4 separate regions of the Homo sapiens genome follow, and all the other regions are linked to region 4. Evidence: promoter capture Hi-C in 16 types of primary human blood cells and fetal thymus (Javierre and others, 2016). All regions are on one chromosome and are shown on one strand. The core of a region is centred on a gene start or on the middle of the fragment in contact, and the rest is flanking DNA. Distances in the headings are between cores, read along the strand shown.

The links. The method cuts DNA at HindIII sites, captures the fragments that hold promoters and counts their contacts. A CHiCAGO score of 5 or more calls a contact.
Region 1: a contact is called between a fragment that was not itself captured here and the fragment with the promoter of PUS7 in region 4, in 2 of 17 cell types (fetal thymus and erythroblasts). The highest score is 9.3, in fetal thymus.
Region 2: a contact is called between a fragment that was not itself captured here and the fragment with the promoter of PUS7 in region 4, in 1 of 17 cell types (neutrophils). The highest score is 8.3, in neutrophils.
Region 3: a contact is called between a fragment that was not itself captured here and the fragment with the promoter of PUS7 in region 4, in 1 of 17 cell types (naive CD8 T cells). The highest score is 5.1, in naive CD8 T cells.

What each region holds. Positions count from the first base shown.
Region 1 is chr7:104,980,430-104,983,495 of GRCh38, reverse strand. LINC01004 (long intergenic non-protein coding RNA 1004) reads left to right here. Exons shown (of 1, transcript NR_039981.2): 1 at 1-1,749. Among named protein-coding and RNA genes, the nearest start is that of LINC01004, 9.2 kb to the left of the region's middle. The HindIII fragment of the contact is 1,038 bases long and covers 1,034-2,071 here.
Region 2 is chr7:105,006,859-105,009,595 of GRCh38, reverse strand. No RefSeq gene overlaps it. Among named protein-coding and RNA genes, the nearest start is that of KMT2E-AS1, 5.9 kb to the left of the region's middle. The HindIII fragment of the contact is 2,679 bases long and covers 92-2,737 here.
Region 3 is chr7:106,052,892-106,055,713 of GRCh38, reverse strand. No RefSeq gene overlaps it. Among named protein-coding and RNA genes, the nearest start is that of SYPL1, 58 kb to the left of the region's middle. The HindIII fragment of the contact is 6,086 bases long and covers 1-2,822 here.
Region 4 is chr7:105,520,947-105,523,934 of GRCh38, reverse strand. It overlaps PUS7 (pseudouridine synthase 7), which reads left to right and starts at 1,664. Exons shown (of 16, transcript NM_019042.5): 1 at 1,664-1,883. RefSeq lists enhancers at 399-899, 2,183-2,837 and silencers at 1,536-2,285, 2,495-2,640. The HindIII fragment of the contact is 10,027 bases long and covers 1-2,988 here.

The DNA of each region.
Region 1 (3,066 bases), core at 303-2,802, 540 kb after region 4:
TTGATGAGATGATGCATGCAAAGCGCTTAGAACAGTACTAGGCATAAAGCGTCCGACATAAAGGTTAAGTAAAAGTAAGGAAAAGCTATGGGGATGTATTGAGTATCTCTTTGCCCAATGACGTATTAGTCGTATTAAATATGGAAAGTGCCTTTGATTCGCCGTGCCCATGGGAGAAGGCATAGGAATGGCCTTTTCCCACCTGTAATCAGAGAGCAGGTGTTTCAAGAACGCCTCAATATGTTTGCGATCTCTCACGCAGCCTTTCAGGCTCCTAATTCCTACGAAGTTTCCGCTTTTATTCAAATTGGCTCACTCCTTTTTGCAGGGCTTTGTACTGAATGAGTATTCTTTTAAGGGTGGTGGACAAGCAAAGGTTTGGTAGCATCACATTTTTAATTTCACAGGGAAAATGGGTATGAAACATCTTCCCAAGTACATCTTAGACTGCCAGCTGACAGCAAGCCATAATGCTCCCCAGCTCTTGGGCCCTACACCCCCTCTCCCCCATCCCCGCTTTAGTTCTTTGTCATTGCTCATGGACAGCTGGTTTGGGGACCAGGTGCAGATGATGGGAGGTGTCTGAAAAACAGCAAGTGAGAAATGCTAGTTTTGTTGTTTTAAGTTGCACTGATGACTCCAGTAGTTATCTGTGCTGCTTGTGATAATTTATAAGGCAATGATAACGAATTAAACATACAAAAGATTATTATCTTCCACAGGAAAAAAAAACTGCAAACTTGTGACACCATTTATGATCCACTTAGTCTTGAGATACTGAGTAATAGAACTTTCTCCTTTTAGGCTGAGTTATGAACTTCGGTTTGGTTTCTTTCTGCAATCCCTGCAGGGCCATAAATTCTTGGCCCTTAAGACTGGGTGGCCCATAACAGACTCAGTGATACCATCAGTAACCACAATTCACACTGGAGTCAAGTTATCTGATTCCCACACCAGTTGGAGAACTGGAGATTCCTTAGAACTTTTAACTGTCATGTTTTCAAAGTTGACATGGAAAATTTTACATGAAGCTTAAAAATACAACTAATCTGTGGTGATAGAGACGAGAAGAGTTAAGCTCTAAAATTAGAAGAGCAGTTCGTTTTGAGGCAGCACTGATTGGGAGGGAGCATGGAGTATATAATTACACATTTCTATGTAATGTAAAAATGTATAGATTTAAGATTTATGCATTTTATGTAAATTTTACTACAATAAAACGAAAATGAAAGAAGACAGATCATAGTTTAATCAAATATTGTGTACAAAGTAATTTCTGTTAAACATTTATATTTTTATGTGTATATGTATCTTTTACATGTATGTGTTAAGGATATGCATTAAAATGGTAATAACTTCCTCTGCCTGTTGGGATAATGGAGAGTTTTGTTACTTTTTGTCTTTTTTTAAAACATGTTCTTCAATAATAATGTATTGCTTTTGTAATTATGAAAAACAAAAGTTATTTTGTAAATCTTTGTTACTGATAAGAGATGGGTATTCTGTTAACTACTCAATTCTCATGTAGGAAAACAAAATAAATAATGTCTATTTGATAAATCGAGAAACAGAAGCATTACTTAGAAATCTGAGTTACCTCTAAAATAATGACTGGCATTTGAAGTTGAGGATGGGTCTTGAGTTCCTGTGATTTTAAGCTCTTGGATATGAGGGTTGGGTGAGTTCCTCTTTTTCTCTTTTAAAATATATGTATGTTTAACTTTGCTAAATAAAATTTAAAAGATGCAATGTATCTCAGTGCAATTTTTAAAAATTTATTTTCATCCAGGTTACTCTACCCTTTCCCTTTGTCATTCAGCAGGCAGAACAAGGAAAAATTAAACTTCTAACTGAAAGGAACTTTGAATAGCAATCAATATCAAATTAGAGACAAAATATAAATATTGCTCAATATAAAATGAGGGTTTTTCTTAATTGAGGGGACAGAAATACAGCTTCTCAGTTATCATAAATTGCATCTTTTTTGGGGAGGGCCTTTTTGGCTTGCATCCATTACCAATTATATATCTTTCACTACTGTGGGAACTGCATTATGGAAACAGCTAAAGCTTGTGTATTTAGCGCCCTCTAGTGCATTATCTTATAACTGATAATACTCCAAACAGCTAGAAAAAATGTAAATCTCAGTCCACCTCCCCTCTTTGCACCTACATGTTTCCTAGCCATGAGACATTAGGCTGTGACCTCACAGTAGTTCTTTAATCTCTAGGCTTCAATTTTCTCATTTGTAAAATGAGGACGATAATAAATACTAGATAGGGTCCTGAGAACTAACTGAATGGTCTATGCTTGTGACATGAATGCCTGGCACATAGTAGAAGCTCGATTAGTGCTAGCTACTCTAACATATAAATAGATCGAGTCAGTACTAACATGATTAAAGACAAGTAATCTTGACTCAGATGTCAGAATCTGCTAGTAGGAAAGTGGAAAATGTTAAAGAGGAACCAAAAAATAAAGAATGAAGGCCTGGGTTTGATACTCATCTTTGGTTCCCTTTTGAGTCAATTGATGCCAATTCTGAAGTCTGGGAACATGTTAAATTCCTTTGCATCCTTCACAGTGCATATAATTGCACACTGTCAACAAATATTTGTGTTAATATTCAAGCTAAATGGTTAGCAAACAAGATGAAGAATGACAGAAAATAATAATTAGTATAAAAATTTGTATTTGGATTCAACTTTCTGTTATTTGAGGCAGAAGCCAAATGCCATTTTTTGGATTGTAGCTTCGGAACAGGCTGTGGACAAGATTTGTGTTACCCGTGTGCAAATGAGCAGCATAATTATACTGTGTGTTTCATATGTTCGCTATGTGACTTTTGTGACTCATTACTGACAACGACAATAGTAGGTTCTAGAATCCTGCCGTCATCCATTCTCACCCATTTTCAGCATTGCATAGGCTATACAGCTAAAATTTACTTCCTCAGACACATTCCAAGAGATACCTTCTCTCCACATAGTCTACATGACCATCTATAGTTCTTTTCCTGCACTGACAGACATAGACTTTGGTACTTAATACCAGTACTTCTTGGGC
Region 2 (2,737 bases), core at 182-2,681, 510 kb after region 4:
ATATCCTGGTTTTTCCCTTACAGTTGTTTAGCAAGTAAATGTTTACTTACTAATTTATTTTCTCCCAGACTTCATTCTACCAGTTTAAGCTTAGCTCAGTTTTGTTTTTTGGTTTTGAGAAGGAGCTTTGCTCTGTCACTCAGGCTGGAGTGCAGTGGTACGTTCTCAGCTCACTGCAGCCTCCGGCTCCTGGGTTCAAGCGATTCTCCTGCTTCAGTCCGTGAGTAGCTGGAACTACAGGCGCACACCACCACGCCCAGCTAATTTTTGTATTTTTAGTAGAGACAGGGTTTCACCATGTTGGCCGGGCTGGTCTTGAACTCCTGACCTCAGGTGATCTGCCTGCCTCAGCCTCCCAAAGTGCTGGGATTATAGGCGTGAGCCACCGTGCCCATCCTAAACTTAGCTCAGTTTTAATGCTACTTCCATTTCTTTATGTATAGTTTGATGTAAGAATAACAGTTGGAAGTAAGGATTTAGGAATAACAAGAGTTTGGGATTTTTGTTTTTTTAATTAGCAAGGTAATGCCACATCAGGTCATTAGTGACATTAATGAGAGAACAGGGGAATTATTGGAAAGTCTTGACTTAAGGCCAGACGAGAAATCCTTAACTGCTAGTGTGACTTCCCTCCCCACAAAAGAGAATGCTCTCGTAATACACCGAACTGTTGGATGCTGTTGTATATACTTTATATATAATCTTACCCAAGGTGGCAGAGCATTAACTTTAACATCTGTCTCCCTGACCTCACCAGAGTTCATAATCTTTGCCCTACTTACACTGTCTGAAGGATGACTTGGCCTTTTTTTTTTTTTTTTTTTTTTTAATTGAGACAGAGTCTTGCACAGTTGCCCAGGCTGGAGTGCAGTGGCACGATCTCGGCTCACGGCAGCCTCCACCTCCTGGGTTCAAGTGATTCTCCTGCATCACCCTCCCCAGTAGCTGGGATTACAGACGCTTGTCACCGCGCCTGGCTAATTTTTGTATTTCGGGGTTTCGCCATGTTGGCCAGGCTGGTCTCGAACTCCCCACCTCAGGTGATCCGCCCATCTTGGCCTCCCAAAGTGCTGAGATTACAGGCATGAGGTGTGGCACAGGACAGAGAAAGACTTACTTTAAAACATACCTGTCTTCAACCCAGAAGAGACTGGCTTTTAGAGCCCTCAATGTAGCAAGAAGAGCCTGAATCAGAGCAGGAGTGATAAAGAAGGAATCTAAGTTATTACAGAAACATCCGTAATTGTTGCCTGGGTGGGTATAAGGAAGAAGAAGGAATTGACTTTCAAGAAAAATAATTGACATTTGATAGTCTTCACAGATAAAAGCCAAAACAGGGTAGATTCAGTCTTAATAGGAGACAAATTTAGCAAGAAAGCTGAGATCTTGGGTCGGTCTACATTTTAGGCCAAGGAAAAGGAACTGATTGCATTTGTTTTTTAAGATAGATTATACGCCAGTGCATAACATATTTAACCTAAGTCTGATTAGCTTTATAATAATTTTTAAATTATTCATAACTATCCTAAGCAATACCTTTTATTGTTAGATTATTATGTAATGCCCACAAATGATAGATAGCATTTGAAAGTAATTGCTGGCTGATTATAGGCATGGTGGCTTATGCCTATAATCCCAGCACTTTGGGAGGCCAGGGTTGGTGGATCACATGAGGCCAGGAGTTCAAGACCAGCCTGGCCAACGTGGCAAAACTCTGTCTCTACTAAAAATACAAAATAATTAGCTGGGCGTAGTGGTGCACATCTGTAATCCAGCTACTCAGGAGGCTGAGGCATGAGAATTGCTTGAATTGGGGAGGTGGAGGTTGCAGTGAGCTGAGATCGCACCACTGCATTCCAACCTGGGGGACAGAGTGAGACCCTGTCTCAAAAAAAAAAAAAAAAAAGGAATTGCAAGTAGCCTGTAATCCCAGCACTTTTAGGAGTCCGAGGCAGGAGGATCACTTGAGACCAAGCTGGGCAACATGATGAAACCCCTGTCTCTACAAATAATTTTTTTAAAATATTAGCCAGGTGTCTGGCACACGCCTGTAGTCCCATTTACTTAGGAGGCTTAGGTGGGAGGATCACCACTTGAGGCCAAGAGATCAAGATCAGCCTGGGCAACATAGCAAGACCCCCACCTATAGGAAAATAAATCCGAGCGTTCCAAGTGTTCAGCTATTCACCCACTTTAGGTTTCCACCTTCCTTAGAAAGTAGAGTAGTATAAATTATTTCTGAAATTTGTGAAACGATGTACCACATAACCCTCTCAAACCAGGTTGCTACTACTTCCAATGACTTCATTGATAAGGGGCAAAGTAACTCGAATGATGGGTGAGCTCATGACATGGTTTAGCTCCGTATCAAACTCTGGATTTGGGAAAATTGCTACTGATTTATTAAACACTTGAATTCTTATATGCTAGGTCAGAATTTGGCAACTAAACTCTCAGAAATTTGTAAACTTCCTTTTTACATAGAAAAGTGAATCCAGGCTGGGTATGGTGGCACGTGCCTGTAATCCCAGCTGCTCAGGAGGCTGAGGCATGATAATTGCTTGAACCTGGGAGGTGGAGGTTGCAGTGAGCCCAAGATTACACTGCTGTACTCCAGCCTGGGCAACAGAGGGAGGCTCTGTCTCAAAAAAAAAAAAAAAAAAAAAAAAAGTGAATATACTGTACTGTAAAGCCTGTGCACCTCTTCATCACACATAATTGCCTGTACATTATGCCC
Region 3 (2,822 bases), core at 243-2,742, 530 kb before region 4:
TGCCACAAGAGGGAGGAAGAAGGCTTCTGGGTGCCATTAGAAGACTTCAGGCAAAGAGAAGGAGGAAAAGAATCCTAAGAGAAGCGGAGGCCAAGAGAAAAGAGAGGAACAAGGAGGAGGCGGCACATGTGTGGAGTGTGGCAACCATTAACCCGGAGCCAACCCTGAAGTCTTCCCAGCCTCTCACCTGAGCCTCTTCTCACCGCAAAACAGACATTGGAACGACCCACCTGGAAAACTGATGGGGGATTAGTTTCCTTCCCTTGAACGATCTCTCTTCTCAGCCACAGGAAAACAAGTTTCAAAGTTGATTGGGAAAGGGGGGGTGGGGTTCAGATATGGAAAGAATGAGGAGGGAACAGATGGTGCCTGCTAAGGCGACCAGATTTTTTCCCCCAGTTAATCTGGGAATGACCTAATTTACATAGTATTTGCATAAATTTCCATTTCAAATTAAAGCTGTCCTAACTTCAAGCATACAGGAGAAAATAAATGAGATCAAGCAATCTACTGTAATTGAACTCAAGCCGGTCCTGACTTCTGCAAAATGCAGGTCAGGCTTTTAAGACCTGGCACAGGAGAGGAAAGGAAGTTGGCCCCACTGTCCCTTCACAGGAGGGGGCTGGAAGAAGTCTGTCTCCACCTCTGAAATTAGAGAAAGTCATCACAAGGTCCTAGGCCAGAGTGTGGGGAGATGAGGAAATGCCGCCTCTTCTCTGCTCTATTCCTCCCTCCATTGCGGGGCCTCCTAAGGAAGAACCAAAACTAGGAATGGAGCAGAAAAGCCAGAGATGCTCTCCTGAAGTCAGACTGGACTAGCCGGCATCTCACAAATGAAGCAAAGGGAAGGCCGGCGTCAGGTCCAGCCTCTTCAGGCACAGTAGACTGGGCTCTTGTGCAGGAGGGTGGCAGGGTTCACATACCCAGGTGCATGGGACCCGGGAGGCATACACCCGCATGGTGTGTGGGGGTTGTTTTTGCCTGCCTGACTCCTTAGCGCTCCATCCTTTATTCTCATCCTCCACCAGTTCCCAGATCCCATCACACAGCCTCACAGACACACAAACATATGTGAGTGCCAAGGAACGAACACACACACACACACACACACACCCTGGGCATTACCACCAGCCCGGCCTGTGAGGTCTCAACCCAGCTTTGGGAACTCTGGGAACCTAGGATGTGCTGGTCATCTTGTTCACTCAATACCCCTTTGTCTATCTCTTGGATTAACTCAGATCCAGTGAAACTGCAAAGGCAGTGAATTCCTAGGGCATGTCAGATGGGGAAAGAACCAAAGCTGGAGGCTGGGACGGTGTCATGCTCTGTATGGAGTCACCAAGGAAGTACTGGCTGCTGCAGAAAGAAATCCCCACCACAGTGAAGGAAGGCCAGCCAGTGGCACTAGATGCCACCGACTGCAATGGAGGCTGAGTGGTCAAGGTGGACTTGAACCTGCCTTTCACGTGGTCCTCTGATGGAGGTCCTGAGTGCTGGCCTCTGTGTCTTCAGATGCTATGTCTTTTCCCCTCACTCACTGATTCCTCTGCACTGAGCATCCCTCTCTGCTTCCCTACCCACCTCAAGGAGGTGGGAGAAGTCTTGCTCTATTTTGATGTTCGCTGAAACAATTTCTGCTGAGAATTCTCAGGCCTCCCTGAAGTTAAGACAGAAAAACTCCCTGCCCAACCCCTTACTCCCCTGAAACAGGAGGACAGAACAGCCTAGCTGCTTCACTGAGGAGGCAGAGAGTTTGAGGAAAGGAGAGGTAAAATAAAAAAAAGACGGGCCAGGCACAGTGGCTCACACCTGTAATCTCAGCATTTTGGGAGGCCAAGGTGGGAGGATCACTTGAGCCCAGGAGTTTGAGACCAGCCTGGGCAACATATTGAGACCTTGTCTCTACAGAAAAATTTAAAATGAGGCAGGAAGATCACTTGAGCCTGGGAGATCGAGACTGCAATGAGTTGTGATTGCACCACTGTACTCCTGCCTGGGTGACAGAGCAAGACCTTGCCAGAAAGAAGGGAAGGAGGGAGGGAGGGAAGGAGGGAGGGAGGGAAGGAAGGAAGGAAACAAGGGAGAGAGAGAGGGAGGGAGGGGAAAAAAGGAAAAAGGGGGTTCATTAATATTTCAAAAAGTTACTTTGCCACATTCTTTTTTGGGAAATAATGATGCAGGGATCATATAAGCCAAAAGAAAGAAGAAAAGGCCACAGAAAAGAGTCGCCTTTTGAAAAGGCAAGACAAGGAGGGAAGAAAAGATCAAATGGAGACATCAGAGTCTAATTCTGGTGAATTTTTCAAGGGCTGCACCCACTGAGCCCCTGCCCCGCCCCCAGATGCCCTCAGCCAGGCCACACAGTACCTGAGAGCCGGTCTGGGTCTCTGGGCAGCTGCTGGACAGCTGCTCGCCCATTCATGCGGTTAAGATGAGTTCACTGCACAGTGGCATCACACAGATGCTCCTGCTGGCCAAAGAAGGCTCTGGAAGGCCAGGCATTCTCATTCAGCCAGCCCTTTGAAGGCTCCTCACCAGCAAAACCATTTATTTGGGGGTCACTCCAACCTCAGCATAAGAAATACCACACTTTAACCCAGAGGTTGGCAAACTCTGTAAAGGCTGGACAGTAAACATTTTAGGTTTTGCAGACCATTTAGCCTCTAAAACAGAGACTCAACTCTCCTCTAATGCAAAAACAGCCATAGAAAATATGCAAACGAATGTCTGTGATCCAATGAATAGACACACTGAAATCTGAATTTATATAATTTTCATGTATTGTGAAATTATTCTTTTGATTTTTTTTTCATTTAAAATCA
Region 4 (2,988 bases), core at 415-2,914:
ACATAGTTTTCAACTCCTTTAGGTAAATATCAAGGAGTGTAATTGCTGAATTGTATGGTAATAATATATTTCTTTTTTTTTTTTTGAGACAGAGTTTCCATCTTGTTGCCCAAGCTAGAGTGCAATGGTGCGATCTCAGCTCACTGCAACCTCCGCCTCCTGAGTTCAAGCGATTCTCCTGCCTCAGCCTCCCAAGTAGCTGGGATTACAGGCGCGTGCCACCACGTCTGGGTAATTTTTTGTATTTTTAGTAGAGACGGGGTTTCACCATGTTGGCCAGGCTGGTCTCAAACTCCTGACCTCATGATCCGCCCACCTCGGCCTCCCAAAGTGCTGGGATTACAGGCGTGAGCCACTGCGCCCGGCCGGTAATAGTATATTTCATTGTGTAAAAAACAAAACAAAAAAACAAATTGGGCAGGGCATGGTGGCTCATGCCTATAATCCCAGTACTTTGGGAGGCCTAGGCAGGCAAATCACTTGAGGTCAGGAGTTCAAGGCCAACAGGCAAAAACCCCGTCAAAAAAATTAGTCTGGCATGATGTCAAGCACTCGTAGGCCCAGCTACTCGGGAGGCTGATGCAGGAGAATCGCTTGAACCCTGCAACAGAGTGAGACTCTCTCTCAAACAAAATAAAACAAAACGGAAAAACTATTAGAGGCTGGGAGCGGTGGCTCACGCCTGTAATCTCAACACAGAGGCGGAGGCGGGCGGATCACGAAGTCAAGAGTTCGAGACCAGCCTGGCCAACATAGTGAAACCCCGTACTCTACTAAAAATACAAAAAATAAGCCGGGCATGGTGGCGTGCGCCAGTAATCCCAGCTACTCGGGAGGCTGAGGCAGGAGAATCGCTTGAACCCGGGTGGCGGAGGTTGCGGTGAGCAGCGATCGCGCCATTGCACTCCAGCCTGGGCGACAGAGCAAGACTCCGTCTCAAAAAACAAACAAACAAACAAAAAGCAAAAAAACTATTAGAGCCTGGGCAACATAGTGAAATCTTGTCTCTACCCCCCACCCCCAAAAAAATTAGCCTGGGTGCGGTGGGATGCACCTGTAGTCCCAGCTACTTGGGATACTGAAGTGGGAGGATTGCTTGAGCCTGGGAGGTCGAGGCTGCAGTGAACTGTGTTCACGCCACCGCACTCCAGCCTGTGCGACAGAGCGAGACTCTGTCAAAACCAAACCAAACCAAAACAAAAAAAACCTATGATCCGGTTTCTTGAAGCAGATCCTATGGCAAGCCATCAAGCCAGAGCGGTAAGAAGTAGGAAGATGGTGCTTTTAGATCCACTACATTCCCAGGATCAAATGTAGAACAATATTTAGTCCCTAAAGTGATTCTCTTTCCATTATTGTCAACTGCGTGGTCGGTGCAACGTGAAAGGGCCACAACTATGTGAAGGAAACACTTAGAATATAACACCAAAGGAGGCAATCGCTGCCTTAGACTTCCTAAAGATCTAAAGAACTCTTAGATGCTTGGTGAAATCGCTCTCTGCCGCTGGTGCGACTCAGGCGCGGTCGCGAGGAAGGTCCAGGGTGAACGCGCGTAGGCTGGGAGTCCGCGTTGGGGCGCTCCCTGGCTTGCAGGCCGCTCCGAGTGGGTGGGCCGGGGGCGGGGCCGGCGGCAGGGAGCGGACTCCGCCCCCGGGGCGGGTCCAGTCGGGCCGCGGCGCGTCGCTGCGCCGCACGTGTGCGAGCCCGGCCGCCGGTGAGTCGGCTGGAGCGCATCTGGTCCTCCGCGCGGAAAGCGCTGCTTTTGCCTGGCCGCCCTAGCCGCTGGCTCATCCAAGTGGCCTTCGCCGCTCTCTTGCGTCCCAACCAGAGCGCTGGCCACCTCGCCGCCCAGCTCACGCCGCGCCCGCGCTCCCAGGCTCCGGGTAAGTGCGCGGCCTCCCCGCGGCCGCCGGGGCTCCTCGGCCTGGCCCTGGCCCCAGCCCCAGCCCCAGGGCCCCGCCCCAAGAGGCAGTGCGGACTGGGAAGGCGGACTGGGAAGGCGGCCCCGCAGTGGTCAGAGCCCGCGGCGCCTCCATTATGGATCGTGCCAGCGGGAGCACGGTTGGAACCCAGTGGGTCCTGCGCTTCGGCGGTGCAGGCGCCGCTCTCCGCTCCCCGCTCCCCGCTCCGCTCTGCCCGGCCAGTCGTCCGGAGGCGCCGCGCCCGAGCGCTCCCCTCCTCCCCGCGCGGCGCTGTCCCCCGGGGGCCCCCTTCCCACTCCTCCCTTTCTTTGCCCCGGACGCTCCCTAAACTCTTGTCCCTCCGTCAGAGGAACACTGGCCCTGAAGCCCTTCACGGTGCCACTGCTTCGCCGCGCCTGCCTTCTGTGGGTCCAGCCCACGTGTTCCACCCCTGTGTCCTGCGTCGCCGCTCACTGGGAGCCTACTAGGCGCCACGCGGGCTCTGGGGACTGCTTGCTTTGTATGCATTTCCCAGAGTAGGAGTGGACGGGCTGCAGACTCAGAGTGCTTTCTCCAGCCCTCAAGCTGGGTGAATGCTTAACGAGTGGATGGAGGTGCTGCTGTGCAAGCTGAAATTCGAGTCCTCCTCGTCAGCCCTGCGCAGAGGTGTTTAGAAGCACACCTTCGTTGCCTGCCGAGTAGGGTTGGCAAAGAGTTTAGTTTTTAAAATATTTGGTCCCGTCAGACTACTTTTTTTTTCCATTCCAAAAATAAAGGGTTACTAAGGTTCCCTCCCCCCCATCCCCAAGCCTCTAATCATCTATGAAATGACTATGCCCCATTGGCCTGGGGGAGCCTCGACTATTGAGGGATCTGTCGAAAATCAGACTGTACAACACTATTGAAAAGGGGTTGGTTAGGCAATTGTTAGGTTCAAACATTAGGAAAGTAGCCAACAGTACGTACTTAACAACTCCTTGTGAACATGTTTTTGGTTTTTTTATTTTTATTTTTTTAATTTTTTTGAGACAGAATTTTGCTCTTGTTGCCCAGGCTGGAGTGCAGTTGCGTGATCATCGCTCACTGC